Linked DNA regions of Homo sapiens: region 1 is linked to region 2. Evidence: promoter capture Hi-C in human tissues and cell types (Jung and others, 2019). All regions are on one chromosome and are shown on one strand. Each heading gives the region's core, a stretch centred on a gene start or on the middle of the fragment in contact. The rest is flanking DNA. Distances are from core to core; before and after follow the strand shown.

What was found. The method cuts DNA at HindIII sites, captures the fragments that hold promoters and counts their contacts. A contact is called where the count stands out against the background at its distance.
Region 1: a fragment that was not itself captured here is called in contact with the fragment with the promoter of IFNGR2 in region 2 in 1 of the 25 tissues and cell types used here (spleen).

What each region holds. Positions count from the first base shown.
Region 1 is chr21:33,259,481-33,265,932 of GRCh38, reverse strand. The region is part of intron 7 of IFNAR2-IL10RB (IFNAR2-IL10RB readthrough); the gene reads right to left. It overlaps IFNAR2 (interferon alpha and beta receptor subunit 2), which reads right to left. Exons shown (of 9, transcript NM_001289125.3): 8 at 5,206-5,336; 9 at 269-3,140. The coding sequence ends at 2,433. It overlaps IL10RB-DT (IL10RB divergent transcript), which reads left to right. Exons shown (of 2, transcript NR_038974.1): 2 at 31-301. Among named protein-coding and RNA genes, the nearest start is that of IL10RB-DT, 3.6 kb to the left of the region's middle. RefSeq lists an enhancer at 1-50. The HindIII fragment of the contact is 4,422 bases long and covers 1,489-5,910 here.
Region 2 is chr21:33,397,714-33,404,662 of GRCh38, reverse strand. It overlaps IFNGR2 (interferon gamma receptor 2), which reads right to left and starts at 1,250. Exons shown (of 7, transcript NM_005534.4): 1 at 1,047-1,250. The coding sequence starts at 1,119. RefSeq lists cis regulatory regions at 151-651, 1-680, 1,248, 1,525, 1,535 and 2 more, silencers at 682-731, 872-921, 942-1,021, 1,032-1,571 and promoters at 1,126-1,530, 1,125-2,292, 1,664-2,302, 1,146-2,302. The HindIII fragment of the contact is 6,342 bases long and covers 1-4,510 here.

The sequences.
Region 1 (6,452 bases), core at 2,450-4,949, 140 kb after region 2:
GCGTTAATTTCCTCTTTTTAACTTGATTAGTGGTTAGACGGGAAGATCCGGAGCTGTCCAGTGTCTTGGGTAATGCACGGCATCGCCTGATGTCTGACGCTAGAACACCACGTAAAGTCAAGCAGAGGGAAGTGAATGCGCCCTAGGCCCCTGCAGGCCACCAAGAAGAGCTAGAGGGAGTTGGTGCAATCCTAGAGATGCCGGCAGGTGCACCAATCTGTGGCACACGTACGCTCTCCAATGGAAGACAACTCAAGACCACACCAAGTTTGTATTAAAAAAGTACTGTTGTGTTACTTTTTACCAACCTCCAATCATTATACAAAATGTTAAAAAATACACAAACACACACACACACTCACAGCCATAGAGGTTATCGCAAAAGATCAACCCAGAATCTTTCAGAATATGACAGATGCACTGAGAAGGCAGATAAATTGATTCAATATACAAAAGGCCTCTTTCCTATGGAATTTCATTAGATTAAATAAGGTGTTCCCTCCTCACAGCCTCATCCTTATGAGCAATCATATAAATAATCTATTTAAAGTCCTTGAACTATAACTTGTATAATTTTTAGTTTTCCCCCTTTGAAGGGGCCTAAGAGAAAGGTTTGAGAAACCAGCTCTTGAGGGGGGCAGGGGTGAGGGGTAAGAGGTCCTGTGCCTTTCATTCATCCTGGGAGCTTCTCAGGATTGCAGCATTTCCACCTGAGTGTTCATTCTTGTACATTTTCTCATCTTTCTCCTGGGTTCCTAGGATCTTGGAGATTACCTAGTCCAATCCTTTTACTTCAGAAACAAAAAACCTGAGGCTCAGAAAGGCTAAGTCAAATGCCTAGGGTCACACAGGGAAACTGTGGGAGTTGGATCCCTGAGTCCCAGTCCTTAAACTGGTTGCTACATGACATTCTAGAACCTCTCCCCACCAACTCCCTTTTTAAAGACAGGGTCTGGTTCTGTCACCCAGGCTGAAGTGCAGTGACATGATCTTGGCTCACTGCAACCTCCGCTTCCTGGGCTCAAGCCATTCTCCCACCTCAGCCTCCCAAGTAGCTGGGACAACAGGCACATGCCACTACGCCCAGTTAATTTTTCTAATTTTGTTTTGTAGAGACAGATTTGCCATGTTGCCCAGGCTGGTCTCGAATTACTGGCCTCAAGCGATACGCCTGTTTAGGCATCCCAAAGTGCTGGGGTTACCGGCAGGAGCAATTGCTCCGGGCCAGACTTCCCTTCCCCCGCCCACACCCCCCCAACCCGGCCTAGATCCACAGGCACTGTAATCACAGCTGACACACTCGACTCGGAATCAGCATAGAGAGCACTCTGAAAATTGTCAAATAGGGTCCCTGAAACTTGTATACCATACTTCTCCTGAAGATCTTGAAGCATCTTTGTGTTTGCTTTTTTTTTTTTTAACTTAAAATATGGCATTCAGGTTTTATCCCTCTCCCCGACGCCATGTTTCCTTTCTGTATTAGTCACACACGTGATCCTAAAGTCTGTCTTCCCCACTTTAACTGGGGAGGGCTGGACAAGGTGGAATTCCAATTGCAGGAGACAGGATGTGACATGGGTGAGGTGCCCAAGGCTCACCGACTGAAACTTCGATGGCTCTTCCCTGTTTCCTTGTGCAGGGCCCCCCTTCTCTCCACTGCTCACCTGGCTCTCCTCCTCCCTTCCTGCCTGCTTTGCAGCTCTTGCTACTATTTTCCTTTTCTTTCCCTGCTCCCACCCTGGCCCAATTTATTTCACAGAAATATCACAGGGCCAGCCAGGCACAGCGGCTCACCCCTGTAATCCCAGCACTTTACGAGGCTGAGGAGGGCAGATCACTTGAGGTCAGGAGTTTGAGACCAGCCTGGCCAACATGGTAAAATCCTGTCTCTACTAAAAATACAAAAATTTGCTAGGCATGGTGGCAGGCGCCTGTAATCCCAGCTACTTGCGAGGGAGGCTGAGGCAGGAGAATCACTTGAACCTGGGAGGCGGATGTTGCAGTGAGCCAAGATCACACCATTGCGCTCCAGCTTGGGCGACAGAACGAGACTCTGTCTCAAAAAAAAAAAAAAAAAAGAACGAAAGAAGAGAAATATCATAGGGTCCTGGACCACCTCTGAAACTGTGGGGAACCCTGCTCCCTGGTAGACATGATGCAGAAACATCCTAAGTGCATTAGTGTAAAGGAAAGGTGCACATGTGCTTCCTTCAAAGTGCACCACTTTGAATATGTAAACAATGCACTGAATGATACTATGGTCCCCATACTGGGAATGTGCATAGGTGATGTCACCTGGAAGAAAGGAACACCACAGTTTCCTCCTCCTTCCCTTGGAGAACACTTGCAGACGATAAGGCAGCAAGTTAGGATGCAGAGACAAAGAACCCTGTAGGTGCTTGTCTGTCCAAGTTCATTCAATAGTTTTGGAGTCATCTCATTATATAACCATCCCCAAGGTCAACATCTGACTCAGAAGTGTCACTTTGATCAGATGGAGCATCTTCGGACCACAGGCCCTCTGAAGAGGGGCTGGGAAAGGTTGGCTGTGTCCCTTCCCCGCTGGCCAGCAAATGGTTTGATTGCACATTATCAGGATCCTCTGGGTCAACCATCTCTTCCAGATGAGACGATAGCATCAGAGGGGCTTCTAAGTCGTCACTGTCCTCGTCATCAAGAACTCTCAAAAACACAGAGTTTAAGTCCACATTGAAGGTAATTCTGCCCCCAGACCCCTCCGTGGAGCTGTAGTCCTCTTCGGGAAAAGGGTCCTGGAGTGGACTCTTTCTCCTCTCACAGGGCCCACTCAAGAGTTCCAACTGCTGAGGGCTGTCCTTTGGCATCGTGGGGAGCTCCACATCAACCTCAGGCAGGTCAGGCTCCTCCTCGGACTCCGGGTCTATCAACTGGGATTCTGTAGAGGTGGCAGAGGCCTGACCCAGAGGCCTGACAGTCAGTCCATGCATGGTATAGCCACCGCCACTTGTCCTGGGCGCTGCCTCAGTATCGCTATCACTTTCATCATCATAATTATAATCCCACACTTTCTTCTTTCTGTTGATGTAAATGACCTCCACCATATCCATGGCTTCCAACGGTGGCAGGTTAGGAAATGGCCAGGCTAAAAAGTTATGAAAATTCTTAAAAAAAAAAAAAAAGAGAGAGAGAGTCCGTATCAGCTGTACTGTTTGCTCTTTATTTTCTACATAATAAAACTTAATCACTGGGGCACAGGGATGCACGCTTGTAATCCCAGCTACTGGGGAAGCTTAGGCAGGACGACTGTTTGAGCTCAGGAGTTTCAGACTGTAGTGCATTATGACTGCACCTGTGAATAGCCACTGCATTCCAGCCCTTAGCGAGACCTTGCCTCTAAAAAAATAAAAAATAAACTTAATGAGATTGAATGATGATGCAGTTGATGATGATGACAGCAATAATAACAGCTAACAGTTACACCATGCTTACTATATGCTGGGCATGACTCTTGGTGCTTTATATATAATTTACCTTTCCCTTGCAACTGCTCTATGAGGTATGCTTACTATTTTTTTTTTTTTTTTTTTTTGAGACGGGAGTCTCGCTCTGTTGCCCAGGCTGGAGTGCAGTAGTGCGGTCTTGGCTCACTGCAACCTCCACCTCCCAGGTTCAAGCAATTCTCTGCCTCAGCCTCCTGAGTAGCTGGGATTACAGGCGCCCGCCACTATGCCCGGCAAATTTTTGTATTTTTAGTAGAGAAGGGGTTTCACCATGTTGGCCAGGCTGGTCTTGAACTCCCGACCTCGTGATCTACCTGCCTTGGCCTCCCGAAGTGCTGGGTTTATAGGCGTGGCCACCGCGCCTGGCCAGGCTTACTATTCTTATGCCCACTTTACAGATGAGAAAATGAGGTGCAGAAGTTAAGAAACTTGCTCAAGGTTTGTGACTAGTGAGTGGGAGCAGCTGCCTTTCAAACCAGGCAGGCTGCTGGCCACATAGACTATGTTCTGACTTACTCCTCTTAACTTCCTCTCCTTTGGCTGCTTCTTTATATTTTTAAGATATTTATATATTTTTAGAGCTAGGGTCTCACTCTGTAACCGAGGCTGGAGTGCAGTGGCGCAATCACAGCTCACTGCAGCCTCCACCTCCTGGGCTCAAGCAATCCTCTCACCACATCCTCCTGAGTAGCTGAGACCACAGGCATGTGCCAGCATGCCTGGCTAATTTATTTTTATTTTCTCTAAGACAAGGTTTCCTTATATTGCCCAGGCTGGTCTCAAACTCCTGGGCTCAAATGATCCACCCGCCTCAGCCTCCCAAAGTGCTGAGATTACAGGCGTGAGCCACTGTGCCTAGTCCTTTTTAAATCTTTTTATAGGATAAATCCACTTTGTGTATATGTTCCACTGACATAATCCAAAACAAAAAGACGATCCATATAAAAATGTTTATTGTACTATTCATCATCACCAAAGAAAAGAAAAGGAAAAGAAATCCAAATGCCCTTTAGCTGAGAAATGGTTAAATGAAAAATGGTATGTTAATAATAATGAAATTCTACCTGATCATTATAAATTATGTGATGAAGTATAAAAACAAAACAAAACAAAACATTGCTGAGTGCAGTGGCTCACACCTGTAATCCCAGAACTTTGGGAGGCCAAGGCAGGTGGATCACTTGAAGTCAGGAGTTCAAGACCAGCCTGGCCAACATAGCAAAACCCCATCTCTACTAAAAATGCAAAAATTAGCCAGGTGTGGTAGCACACGCCTGTAGTCCCAGCTACTTGAGAGGCTGAGGCACGAGAATTGCTTGAGCCTAGGAGGCAGAGGTTACAGTCAGCTGAGATCACGCCACTGTACTCCAGCCTGGGTGACAGAGTGAGACTGTCTCAAAAAAAAAAAAAAAAAAAAAGGAAAGAAAACATAAAATGCACAGATGCACAGATACACTTACAACTGCACATGTATATATATGTAACTAACCTGCACACTGTGCACATGTACCCTAAAACTTAAAAGTATAATAAAAACAAAAACAAAACAAAAACCCTGCAAAATATACATTTATAGATATGGAAAAGAACTCAGAGTGAGAAAGCATTTTGGTGTTTATAGAAAATGAGATTTTCTTCTGTGAAAATATTTATATAAATACAAATTCTTAAGTTAAAATAAAAAACAAAGATAGAAAAAACAAAACAAAACAAAAAAACTACCTACCAAGACTTTGGGGAGGCTATTTCTTAAGCATATATAACCAATCCATTTCAGTGTCACTATGGTGCTTGTCAAGACCAATGCTATCAAAAACACAGTAATTATTCCTCCTATTTTGGCAGATTCTGCTGATTCTGTTGATGAAAAATTAAATGACTTTATTTCAAAAAATGCAATAAACAATTGCAGATGGAAATAAATGTACATTGGCCTGGTGTTACAAGATGATCAAGAAACCAAAGGTTTGAAAAAACAGTTTTATATTGAGAAATACCAGAGACTGGAGAATTATCTAAGTGTGCATTTTTTAAACAATAAAATAGACTTAGCTTTTAAAAGTAAAATTTCCTTCAGTTTATGTTCTATAACTGCACTGTACAGTGGAGTAGCCACTGGCTGCAGCTGGCTGAATTTAAATGATTAAAATTAAACAGAATTAAGAGCTCGGTCTCTCAGTCACATGAAACACATCTCAAACGTTCGGTAGCCACACTGGTTAGCATGCGCTGCGGGCAGGAAGAAGTGGGGAAGGAAAGTTTGCTTGAAAACAACCAACTGGGTCATTCTGAGGCTGGACTTTAGCCACGCTGGGGCCACAAGTCAGGGCTCTGCAGAACCTGCCTTGCTCTATTAACAGTTCCCCTTAGTTTCTCATCAAAATTCCTTTTGGAAAATTTCAGCTTTTTGACTGACCATAGTTATTTTCCTGAAGTGCGACCAGACTGAAAAATCAGTAGTTATATCACTAAGGCTCTCTTGCACTTCCAGAAAGGTCTTCATTAGTATTAATCCTCGAACTATAGCCTCAGGCAAAAATAGATAGAGGGGAGAAAAAAGGAAATCAAATGGATTATGTACTCTAAGTCTTCCAGAAGGTTAAGGAATGAATAGAAAGAAGTTCAGTAAAAACCCTTGATAGTTCAGTAAAAACACTGTTAGATAGCACAGGGTTCAAGAATCCACTCTCACCTCCATCAAGAGTGTGAAGGATTGGATTGTCATATCAATGACAGTTCCAGAATCAGATCTAGCCACAGAGGCACGCCTTTAGGATACAAAATTCTGACATGTATAGCGTTTACATTCTTGAAAGGGGTACTGTAAACCAAAGTGATTTCACTGGTGAAGGAATGGCATAATACAGAGATTGTGACTCATGTACCCATCCAACTTGCATATAACAGCTACAATGCACTCTATGTCCAAACCAAATTGTGTAAATTGTAGTTAATATGCTAGGATAATATTCC
Region 2 (6,949 bases), core at 1-2,500:
GAGCTCAGGAGTACAAGAACAGCCTGGGCAACACAGTGAGACCTCCTCTCTACAAAAAATACAAAAATTGGCCAGGCGTGGCCAATAATACCACCTTCTTGGGAGGCTGACGTGGGAGGATCGCTTGAGCACGGGAGGCGGAGGCTGCAGTAGCTGAGATGCTGCCCACTGCACTCCAGCCTGGGCGACAGAGCGACACCCTGTCTCAAACAACAATAAAATAAATAAATGCCTGGCTCAGTTGACACTCTTCCTCTTCCGCCCCAACACTGATGGGACCCGGACAGTTCTGAGCCCTGCCTGAATGCTGCTGCCCCATCTCTATGACCGCGGGAACTGTCTAGATTTCACACCCAGTGTCAAACATGCCCTCGGCCAAAGTCGGAATTGAGTCTGGGTCACCCGTCCAAGACGCTGGTCCCTGCTCCACCGCTGCTACTACAAAGGGACTGAGTCTAGCTTCCAGCCAGGCCTTCGGGAGGCACTCCAGGCGGGGACTAAGCGCAGTCTCGCCAGGCTGCAGAACCAGTGGCCAGCAAAGGCGGCCCCCGCCGGAGCCCTGGATTCAATTTGCTGTTGTTCATTCCGAGAAATTCGGAGACTGGGGCCACGCTGGCTTTCCCGGCGCGGGCGCGCGGGTGGGGGAGGTGGCGCAGCCGAGGTTACCGGCTTCACGGAGGGGCACCGAGTGTCCTCTCCCGGAGAGGGGTGTCCCGGCGGCCAGGACGCCAGGAGGGGTGCCCCCCGTCTTCCTGCTGCTGCCCAGCTCCTGTCTGGAACTCCTGGCCGCCCATCCCAGCCCCGCTGCGGGCTCCCAGCGGGCCCCTCTAGCCCTGGGCACCCCGCAAGACCCCCACCTGGGGCACCCGCAGGTTCCCACCTGATCTGAGCACTCCGCATATCCCACCCACCAGGAGCACCCCGCAGATTCCCACCCACTCTGAGCACCCGGCAGATTCCCCCCACCCCACGATCCGGGAGTCCCCCAGCCCCCACATGCTGCGGCTGCGCCCGCGTCCCGCCGCGGAGGCCCAGGCCCGGCTCACCTGGCGGGGCCGCGGCGGCGGCGGCGAAGACTCCGAGCAGCAGCAGCAGCGACCACAGCAGCGTCGGTCGCATGGCCCCGGGCGCTCGGCGGCGGCTCAGGTCGCGGCCGGGGCCCCGCTCGGGGTCCGCGGAGCCGCTCACGTCGCCGCCCAAACCGCCATGGCGAGCGCAGGGCGCGCAGGGCCCGCCTCTTCCCGAGCAGCAGCGGGGCGTCCCGGTGGAGGGGATTCGGCTCGGCCGCCCGCGCCCCCGCCCCCGCCCCGTCCCGCCCCCGAGGCCACCGCCCCCGCGCGGGACTTTCCCGCTCCGGGAACCGCGGCCCTGGGGGGCCTCTGCGGCTGCAGCGCGGGGACCCCACGCAGCCGGCCTCCCAGAGCGCGGAGCCTCCCGGAACGTCCTGGAGACTGGAGCCCCGCGGGACGCCCACCTTCGGGGGCCGCGATCCTTCCGGAAGGGCCCCGCGAGACCCCGGCCCAGACCCCCGGGCTTTCCCTGGAGCCCCCACCCCTCCTGACCCCCCCCAACTCTCCTCTCGGGTGCTTGATCGCACAATTCGAGGATTCGCCCCTTTAGTCGAAATGTTTGCTTTAATAGCCCCCAAAGTACATATTAAGCTTTCAACTCTCCCCCGCCCCCCTCCCCTTTTTTTTGAGACGGAGTCACCAGGCTGGAGTGCAGTGGGGCGATCTCGGCTCACTGCAACCTCCGCCTCCAGTCAACCCCATTTTGAAAAGGGTTTTAAGGGGAAGGAGTTAGAAAGGGCCCAGTGAAGGAGGAGGTGGGGCTCTGGGGGTGGGGGGAATGGCCTCCGAGCAGGGGGAGGGAGAGACAGAAACTTCCAGCATTTCTAAATGGCGTGGGGTTTGCCCTGGAGCCGGCGGCGGTGCACGAGTAGGAAGTCCTTTAGCAGCTGGGCAGCCGCAGGCCCGCTCCCCAGCCCGAGCCTGCACCATGTCGTTTGACGCCTGTTGGGAGAGGGTTTTAAATCTGCCCTGTTCTTCCAAGATGCGTCATAAAGCTAGCGCAGCAAAGGAGGGACGCGGTGCAGGGAGACCAAGAATTTAAAAACAGGTCGTCCCGGGAGCCCACTGGACACGTTAGCAAAAATGGGTTTTGCAACATAGAGCTTTTCTTTTGCTCTTCCCACATTCTTGCATTTCCTCTTTGTAGAACTATTTTGAAATTGGCCACGCTCGTGAAAATACGTGATGAAATACCTCGCAGACAATTGAATTATGCATTGGATATTTCTAGATACAGAGATGTATTTATATGTTACACGAAAAAAGCGGGCGATAACTTGGAATCACTTCAAAAAGTATGCACTGATGCCAGGCGCGGTGGCTCACGCCTGTAATCTCAGCACTTTAGGAGGCCGAGGTGGGCGGATCACATGAGGCCAGGAGTTGGAGACCAGCCTGGCCAATATGGCTGAAACCCGTCTCTACTAAAAATACAAAAATTAGTCAGGCGTGGTGGCCGGCGCCTGTAATCCCAGCTACTTGGAGGGCTAAGACAGGAGAATCACTTGAACCCGGGAGGCGGAGGTTGTAGTGAGCGGAGATTGCGCCACTGCACCCCGGCCTGGGTGACAGACCGAGACTCCGTCTCAAAAAAAAAAAAAAAAAAAAAAAAAAAAAAAAAAAAAAAAGGCACTGAAAATGACAGGATTGCAAGAAGGATTCTGTTTTCAAACAAATAAATAAAATTACAAGAAAACGACTGGGTGAAAGATGCCAACATTCTAACAAGAAATCGGTTACAGGATCACACAAGTGTCATCCGCCTCAGGGGATGTAACCGAATGCTGGTTCAGTCGCTGGCTGCTTGCAGAGTCTAACAAGAGCAAGATGTGGTGGAAAGAAAGTGACTTTATTTCCAAAGCTAGCAAGGGGAAGTGGTTGGATTCCTATCCCCAAAGCAATCACGTTGAATTGTGGGGTATGGGGAGTGGGAAAGGCAAGGGTTATTTATTTTATTTATTTATTTATTTATTTATTTATTTATTTATTTATTTATTTGAGACAGAGTCTCCGTCACCCAGGCTGGAGTGCAGTGGTGTGATCTCCGCTCACTGCAAGCTCCGCCTTCTGGGTTCACACCATTCTCCTGCCTCAGCCTCCCGAGTAGCTGGGACTGCAGGCGCACGCCACCACACCCGGCTAATTTTTTGTGTTTTTTGTAGAGATGGGTTTTCACCGTGTTAGCCAGGTTGGTCTCGATCTCCTGACCTCGTGATCTGCCTGCCTCGGCCTCCCAAAGTGCTGGGATTACAGGCGTGAGCCACCGCGCCCGGCCAAGGCAAGGGTTTAAAACGGGAAAACGATGTGGAAGTCAGGCAAGGATTATGCTAAGTACACTGTCTGTTTGTCTTGTTCCGGTGGCTGTCTTGGGTCCTAGTCCACAGGAAGCCTGTGGTCTGGCATCATCTCAACAATGGCTGGATTCTTAATTAGACGCCTTGAGGTCACATGTGGAATTTTGCAGAAGAATCTCCAGGCTTGGTCTGTCTGTCTCAAGATTAGCGTCTGGAACCTCTAAGAAGGCACGTAACTAGACACGGGCATACAGTTAGATAAATGTGAAGGGAGTTTATACGGTGAAGAAGGGAGGGACATGGAGTCCATTTTAAGGCTAAGGGAAAAGGCTTCTGCAGTTTGTTTCAAGGTTACATCTTTGATGGCTGGGTGCGGTGGCTCACGCCTCTAATCCCAGCGCTTTGGGAGGCTGAGCCAGGTGGATCACCTGAGATCAGGAGTTCAAGACCAGCCTGGCCAACATGGTGAAACTCGTCTCTACTAAAAATACAAAAATTAGCCAGGCGTGGTGGCATGTGCCTGTAATCCCTGCTACTTGGGAGGCTGAGACAGGAGAATCACATGAACCCAGGAGGTGGAGGTTGCCGTGAGCTGAGATCATGCTGCTGCACTCTAGCCTGAGCCACAGAGCAAGACTCTGTCTCAAAAAAAAAAAAAAAATTGTAACCTGTATATCATTCTAAAGAAATACTTTTGGCCAGATGTGGTGGCTCACACCTGTAATTCCAGCACTTTGGGAGGCCGAGGTGGGTGGATCACCTGAGGTCAGGAGTTCAAGACCAGCCTGGCCAACATGGTGAAACCCCATCTCTACTAAAAATAGAAAAATTAGCCAGGCATAGTGGCAGGTGCCTGTAATCCCAGCTACTTGGGAGGCTGAGGCATGACAATTGCTTGAACCTGGGAGATGGAGGTTGCAGTGAGCTGAGACAGCACCACTGCACTCCAGCCTGAGTGCAGAGTAAGGCTCCATCTCAAAAAAAAAAAAAAAAGAAAAGAAAAAGAAATACTTTTGTGCCTAATTTTATAGTGAGTTGTGTATTTGTTTATAAAGAGGGCTCCATCTATTATATACACTTCAGCCCTACAAACCCTGAATCTGCACCATCCCTTTCCATTAATTCCTTACCTTGTAATCAGTTGATCTTCCTGAAGCATTTCTAATAGCCTAGAGGGACTCCTCTCACCTCCCTCAGGAGAGTGGGTGGGGGATGGCAGAAAGAAGCCAACATTTTTTGCTGGCCAGTGGTGCTTCTCTAGGTATTATAACACTCAGACCTCCCAGTTAGGCAGGCGATGGCTGTCCCATGGGGACACTAGCAGAGTTCAGTGACTTGGCCTGTGGTGGGTTTGCACTGCAGTAGGTCTGCTAAACTGTAACTGCATTTCCTAGAATTCCCCTCCCTGAAAAGTTCTGAGGTAACATGGGCAGGGAAGGATGTTTGTGTGTGTCTTGGTCCATTTTCTGTTGCTTATAACAGAATATCTGAAGCTGGGTAATTGATAAAGAAAAGGCATTTATTTCTTACATTTTGGGAGGCTGAGAAGTCCAAGGTCTAGGGACTAAATCTGGTGAGGGCCTTCTTGCTGGTGGAGATTCTCTGCAGAGTCATGAGGTGGTCAGGGCATCACATGGCAAGGGGGGCTGAGGGTGCTAAGGTGCTCGGATTTATCTTCCTCTTTTTTTTTTTTTTCTTTTGAGATGGAGTATCACTCTGTTGCCTAGGCTGGAGTGCAATGGTGCAATCTTGGCTCACTGCAACCTCTGCCTCCTGGGTTCAAGCAATTTTCCTGCCTCAGCCTCCCAAGTAGCTGGGATTACAGGCACCTGCCACCACACCCGGCTAATTTTTGTATTTTTAGTAGAGTTGGTGTTTCACCTGTTGCCCTGGTCTTGAACTACTGACCTCAAGTGATCCACCTGCCTCGGCCTCCCAAAGTGTTGGGATTACAGGAGTGAGCCACCATGCCCATCCCCTCTTTTATAAAGCCACCAGCCCCACTCCCATGATAACCATTGGTCCATGAACCCATTAGTCCATGAATGAATCCACCCATCCATGAGGGCAGGATCACCATAACCAATCACCTCTGAAAGGCCTCATTCCTCCATACTGCCATATTGGGAATCAAATTTCCAGCACGTGAAATTTGGGGACACATTCAAACCCTAGCAATGTGCGAGACTTGGAAGATGGAAGGAAAGGTGCAGCCATATTCCTTTACCCTTGGGAGGCTGGGGCAGGGCACAAGGCATCCATCTTTGCAGCTCCCGACCTGTGGCTTCTCTGCTGATGTCCTAGATGGCAGGGATGCAGACAGGCTCCAGGCTCCTCCAGCTCCCCGTGGATCTCATGTGGTCGTGTAAGCTGGAGGTGTGGAGATGGAGAGCAGGGTGAGGAGGGTGGCAGCTGAGCCTTAGATTTCAGCTTGTCCCTGCTTCCTCCATCTCTTGTCCACCTTCTCTTCCCGGCCTCCTGCCCTGAGGACTTCAGGCTCCAGCACCGGACAGGGGAAAATTGTCTCTCCTGGACTGTGCACACATCTCTCATGTTTATGTGAGGTCAAATCTCTGTAATATAACAACACACACACACACACACACACACACACACGCACACACACACACACACACATCACATCACATGATGGTTTTGCTTGTTGGATCAAAATCTGGCTGAGCATGCCCCAAATCACACAGCCAATGAGTGGCAGTGTGGGCTCCTAGCCAGGCCTGTCTAGTGCCAAAGCCCCCTGCATTTCACAGCAAACTTCTCATCATGCTGTTCAGTTTTCTCGTAATGAGACCCAGCTCTGTGCCCAGTCAAGCGCTCCACAGCTCCCCATGACCCGGCTATTCCATCAGTGAGTCTTTGAAATTGTACTTCGTGAAGGTCACATGTGCCCTACTTGTCTGCCTCTTCCTCTGCTGTTCACCCCACCTGTTTGCGCCTCTCCCTGCCTTCATCTACAACGCCTCCCCCAACCCCCACTCCTGCCATACCCACAGTCCAAATTCTACAACTTCTGGACTCCATTTCCTGAGAACTCTGTTGCCTTCTCTGACTACCATCTTCCACTGTTTGCTGCCATTTTGTGTCATCGTTGGTGTCCGTGGGGATTGACATAGCCAAAGGCAGGGCCGCTGACACCTGTGAGTGGGTAGGTGAGTGTCTTCCCTGGATTCAACAGAGCTGTAAGAGGTCCGAGCTCAAAGTAGGCCTTGATCATTACCAAGTGGGGCCCTGATATGTGACTTGGTGCCCCCTTGTTTCAAGAAATTCCAGGATCAAGGTCAGAGGAATTGGCATGTTAGCGAAAGGATGAATTCCCTTAGGTCTCCGGTGATGGGCTGGGTTTTTCTTGCTGTTTGTCATGGGCCACAGCCCCCTCCTTTCACCAGCCTACACTTGTTGCATTTCTACTTCCCCAGTGGGGCCATCATAAAACATCATTCCAGTAATGCCAAGTCTTCTCTAGTCTTTTGCCTCCTGTCTGGGACCCTCACAAGAGTAACTATTACACATACAGCATTCTATATTTAATTCCTCCTGAAAACAGGGAATGAATGATATCCTGATTTT